2 separate regions of the Homo sapiens genome follow, and region 2 is linked to region 1. Evidence: promoter capture Hi-C in 16 types of primary human blood cells and fetal thymus (Javierre and others, 2016). All regions are on one chromosome and are shown on one strand. The core of a region is centred on a gene start or on the middle of the fragment in contact, and the rest is flanking DNA. Distances in the headings are between cores, read along the strand shown.

Region 1 (2,929 bases), core at 323-2,822:
AACTCTATAGTTGTAGATTAAACATTTGAGCTCTGAATTTTTCTTGTTGTAATTTGCCCGTCAGTTTTAAAATGTACACAAGAAAGGGCCATAATATGTAACCAGCTGGAGGATTAGAAAACCATGCCTTTTAGCTTCTGCTGGAGTTTCTACCCTTTCTCCCTTTCCTGCTCTAATGATTTGTGATTAGCCAGCCTTATTGCAATAACACCACATTTACTATCATTATCATACTTTAATATCTTGGCTTCTTGGCAATAGGTATTCAGTCCTTGCCCATGTTTTCCAAGCATCCCTGTACTCATGCAGTGGCCCACAAAAGTTGTGCAGTTGGGCAACTCCACTCCACATGGACATTGCCGACTGCCCAGGGATTCCCCACCATAGACACTCATTCCTGGCTCGAAGTTTGGTCTCTCTGACCCCATTTGTGATGCCAATTGTAACAAGAAAAATCCAGAATCATATTTTTAAAAAAACCTTTCCCCCAAACTAGGAGGGAGCCAAGAGACCAAAGAATGACTCAGACAAGTCCAGCTTGGCCAGTGGATAAGTTTATTAGGACTTACATATGAGACACTCCTAGATAGCAGAGGACACCTTTAGAGACCTGCCCTGCTTTCCATCTCTAAGCTGCTTTTAAGCTAATTTTCTGGCTCTTTGCCTACTGTGTGTGCATGATGGGACTGTTTTCCTTGATAGGTTCTCAGGTATTCTCTGGGATGTTTGGGTACTCAAGGACACCTGCTCCTCAGCTGGACACCATGGCGTTGACTCACCACTTGGCCATCAAGGATACCTGCTTCTTGGCTGGGCACCGTGTCCTTGACTCACTACTTAGCCATTAAGGTTCAAGCAGTGGTCATACACCCTTAAGTATCCTGGTGGGGGACCTGCAACCCTACACCAGTGACAAGGCCTATTTCTCATTGTCCACGACATGTGACTTTGGGAAAACTACTTAGATTCTCTCTGCTTCAGTTCTGCCACCCACAGACCAGAAATAGATACCAGACCCAGCCCTATCTCTTCTTTCTAGGGTTGTTGTGACATTTGGAAAGAGATTATGGGTTTAAGAAACTTTAAAGGGTTAGAGTGATACAAAGTGTAGTGAATTTTACATCTCAGACTAACCTGATATAAAATCTCTACTGACAAGTCCGTAAAGATCTTAGCTCAGTGCCTAGGATTCAGTAAATGCTTAGAGGATATCAGCTATTAGTGTTACCGCTCATTTTCTTGTTAGACTATGCTCCCAATTATCCAAGGATGACTTTGGTAGTCTAATATTGGTCTAAGTCTTTAAGTATTAGAGGTACTGCCTTCTGAATTGTCACCAGGCCTAATGTCATCTAGACTGTAAACAATTCCCCAACTATCAAGATAACTGTTCTATGAATGCTTTTCATTTCCATATTTTCTTGGCTCAATGCTGTTGCTCAGGACAAAAAACACCAAGTTGGTGATGATGACTGAGTGATGAAACAGTGATCAGAGGGACATATGAAGCTAGTGTAACAAAGATGGGAGGGGCTGGGGAAAGTATAAGTAACTATTAGGAGGTTCAGAGCAAACCTCAGGACACTTACTCCCTGAGCTAAGGTAAAGAATATTGTCCCTCATAGCCCTGGTCTCAGAAACTCTGTGGGGAAGATAAGTCCTGAGCCTAGAGCTGCCATTTCCACAGACAACTGAACTACCTTCAAACAGATGTGTTTTTAGGGGCAGCAGATAGAAGGAGCTGAATCCAGGAGTTTCCTTCCCTGAAATGCCCCAACAGAGGCACAGTCCTCCACCTTCCCTGGAACAGAGGGCTTTCATCTGTCTCTCTGAAGCCATCTCCCTCCCCTGTTTATGCCCAGAGCTGCTTTCCAATCCCATGGAGTGCCTCCGTATCTAACCATAGCCACTGAGTCTACCAGGTGTTCCTGAGAAGACAACTAAGCCAACCGCTCCACACTCTGCTGATTTTCTTCTACATCTCACAGGGGGAAGAGCTGGATCACCATGAAATATGTCTTCTATTTGGGTGTCCTCGCTGGTATGTACTCAAGACCTTGTACTCTGTCCTGTAAGGCACAGTTTAATGGATGGGGTGAGACAGAGGCAGGATTGCGAAGGGTGCAGAAAAAGAGTCAAAAATAGTGTCATCAGCAGAATTAGGAGTCCTGCCTCTCAGACTCCATCCAAAGGCTCTCCGGATAGGCTGAGCCCACTTTTCTAGTGTTAAGCTATAGGGTGGGTTAAGGCACACATGTGCCTTGGAGAAGGCTTAACAGTGAGTGTCCTCCCACCGACACTAATGCAGAAAACAGAGAAGTAGAAACAAAAGATCAAGTACTAGGACCCTACCTTCTGTAGTCCTTGCCCCACATGGGGTTCTTCTGACAGCAGAATTTGCAGATGAGGCATTTCCCACCATTCTCTGACTGCCTAGGTTGTATCACACATTAGCTGTGTGAGATTAGCCAAGTTAATTAACTCTTCTGTGCTTCAATTTCTTCAAAATGGGGGTATGACTACCCATATTATAGAGCTATTGTGAAGATTAAATAAATCTATGTAAAGCACTTAGAACAATGCCTGCTATAGAGAGCTCAATGTCTCTTGCCCTTGTTTACAGTCTACCCTTTTCTCTTTGGGGTTTCTAACTGTGTGATCACACAGAAGGGTGTGGTGAGGTACAGACCCAGTCTTGGGGAAGGTTAACAGGAGTAGCAAGAGAAGCCAAGACAAGAAGAGGGCTTTATTTCTGATACTAGAATCAGCCTTCCTCCCCTTTATTCTCTAGGGTATGTTTTAAATAATTCATTTATAAAAACAATATATGTTCATATTACAAAATTTAGACATTTTTAAAGTAGAAAAATAAGCATCATTCATAATCCCACCTCTTAGTCAACACATGCTAACACTTTGAGTTTACTCT
Region 2 (2,714 bases), core at 39-2,538, 110 kb before region 1:
TTAGAAGAGTTTTAGAAAATAGTTAGAATACTAAGGATTTATGTTTAAGATGCTGAGTATCACGCTATTGAAATTACAAGCATTATCTTGCTCATTTCTCGGAACAATCCTATGTGGTATTTACTATAATTACTCCTATTTATAGATAAAGAAATGGAAGGTAAAGAGACTCAGTAACTTAATCAAGGATGTTCAGCTAGTGAAGGTCAGCTCCAGGAATCAAAAGCAGGACTGATTTTTAAAACTTTGTTCTTGTCCACCACACTTTACTAGAAGATTTGTGGTTATGCAATTGTTAAAGAAATAATATACTTTTACACCTGAATAAATAAATCATATAGTTTTACACCTGAATGCTATGCACATATTAAATAATACATTATCAAAATCTATATTTTGACATGAAAAGATATATATAACATAGTGTTAGCTTAATCTTGAGCAGATAGATTGCAAAACAATATGTACAATATGTTCCCATTGTTCTTTGTGAACCAGTGTTTTTCTGTCTATCTATCTATCTATCCATCTATCTTTCTATCTACCTACTCATCTCGAAAGGATACACCCTGAGGTGCTAGCAATGACTATAACTAAATGTACAAGGTTATAAATGGTTTTGTTTTCTCAATTTTCCTTGTTAATATTTTCCAGCCATTTTTTTGTCATGAGCACAGTAGTTTTCATAGTAGGGAAAATAAAAGCAAATTTTCAAATTTAACACGAAATTAAAAACTCCTTGACAATAGGACTTGAGTATTGTTCACCCCAGCCCACTGCTGTATCCAGCAGAGTGCCATGTTCAAGAAACACTGAAGAGCCACCATGAGGTCTGGAAGGTGAGCAGGTGGTGCCAGAGAGGAGTCCATGATAAAGGGGAATGAGCAGAGCTCCAGCAAATGGAGCAAATGGAACAGCAAGAACCTGCTCATTCATATTAGTGTCTTCAACTGGATTTCTTAACATTTTTAACTTGACATAATTTCAGACTTGCAGAAATGTTGTAAGGAAAGTACAAATAACTTCCAGCTACCTTTTATCCAGATTCAATGTTTGTTAAAATTTTACTACATTTCTCTTCCCACTGTATTTCAAGGAGATTTAGACACAGAGGAAGGGTGAATCTGTGTTGAGGTATTTTGTTTTCCAAATTGTCCTTAAAATGTTCCTCTGCATTAGAACTCTCCTGGCAGGAAGTCTGCTCTTGCCACCACTAGGGCTAGAGAGTCTCTTCCCTTCTTTGCCCCGCCTGCTCCCTTTGCCAAGAACCCCACTGAACAGGAAGAGGTATTTCTTGGGGATGCTACCAAGGCAGAGACTGTGAAGAAGGAAGAACGTTGCTTGGGCAAAAGGAGCATATTCTCAGGAGACGGGGCCCCTGCCTGCCACACCAAGCATTAGGCCACCAGGAAGACCCCCATCTGCAAGCAAGCCTAGCCTTCCAGGGAGAAAGAGGTGAGTCTGTCTGTCTGTCTTGGCTGCATGGACTGTTGACCAATGCCAAGACCTTCAGGGATGCCTGTCCTGTCTGTCACCTACCCCTGGTATTTGGAAGACTGAGGCTTCTGACAACTTAAGTCAGTATGGTGAAGGCTACAGACTAAGGTCCTTGGGAACAAGGGTCATTTCAAGGATAAGGGTTCTCAAAATACAGGAGAGGGTTTAATTATTAGACAGAATTTAGGAGGCCACAAATAGGGCAAGGCTGAGGCCTGGAGTAGGGAATGAGTGAAGGAGAGGCAGTATGCCAAGTTCCAAGGCTCCAATCAATACATGATTCTTTCTGTGTTCGCGGCCCACGCTGGGTCACCTCCTGGTACCTGTCAATGTCATGCCTGTCTTCCAAGCCTGCCTTGCTTTGGGTACTCTGAGCGAGAGGCTGGGATATGTCCTAGTGAAAAGCAGCCTTGTACCCGAATTCTGATGCTGCTGTGCTCTAATCTTCACAGGCCCCTGCAGCTCCTTCATCATGAACTGGCACATGATCATCTCTGGGCTTATTGTGGTAGTGCTTAAAGTTGTTGGAATGACCTTATTTCTACTTTATTGTGAGTATTTGAGCAACCTCTTGCCCCAGACTTCATGTTGTCTTGCTCATTGACTCTTCTCTCAGAATGCATGGTTGTGTGTAAAGGTTACATATCCAAGTCTTTCCACCTGAGACTAACTGACCCAACCTGAGGTCAATTGGCAATGCCTTTCTCACTCCCCAGCACACACAGTGGCCCAGGCTCCTTGGTCTACCTTGGAGATATAGAACTTACCAGTTTCTGATGGTTAGAACGCCACGCAAAGCTTTTGCTAGTAGAGTATTATTTGGGTGATCTCAGCTGAAGTACTTGGCAGCGCTTGTTATTGTTGGCAAAATCTAAAATACAGCTCCAGTTCAACCCAATGACAAGGCCATGGTAAGAGCTGAAGTATAATGTAACAGGATTTAACTGAGAAAGAAATTTCTCTTTGTATACATATAAATTAATTCATCCAAATGCCTAGTTAAAGAAGCCTCCTATGAAAGGATTTTACTGCAATCAGAAACTAGAATCTTCTCTAGCCCCAGAAGCCAGTAGGGAAAATAAATGAGGAAGGAAACGTGAGTGGGAGGCAGTAGTTAGCTAAGAGGTGTCTTCCTCATGATGCAATCTGAAGGTGCAATTCCTATCATGTCAGACAGCAGGACAGAAATATGAATAAGGGAACGTATTCACAAAACC

The links. Contacts are between HindIII fragments. The CHiCAGO score rates a contact against its expected background, and 5 or more counts as called.
Region 2: the fragment with the promoter of CLEC5A here is called in contact with the fragment with the promoter of PRSS37 in region 1 in 5 of 17 cell types (monocytes, naive CD8 T cells, megakaryocytes and 2 more); the score reaches 9.3 in monocytes.

Annotation. Positions count from the first base shown.
Region 1 is chr7:141,840,128-141,843,056 of GRCh38, reverse strand. It overlaps PRSS37 (serine protease 37), which reads left to right and starts at 1,572. Exons shown (of 5, transcript NM_001008270.3): 1 at 1,572-2,041. The coding sequence starts at 2,008. The HindIII fragment of the contact is 13,045 bases long and covers 1-2,929 here.
Region 2 is chr7:141,945,548-141,948,261 of GRCh38, reverse strand. CLEC5A (C-type lectin domain containing 5A) reads left to right here and starts at 1,288. Exons shown (of 7, transcript NM_013252.3): 1 at 1,288-1,455; 2 at 1,950-2,048. The coding sequence starts at 1,970. RefSeq lists an enhancer at 1,607-2,714. The HindIII fragment of the contact is 3,527 bases long and covers 1-2,297 here.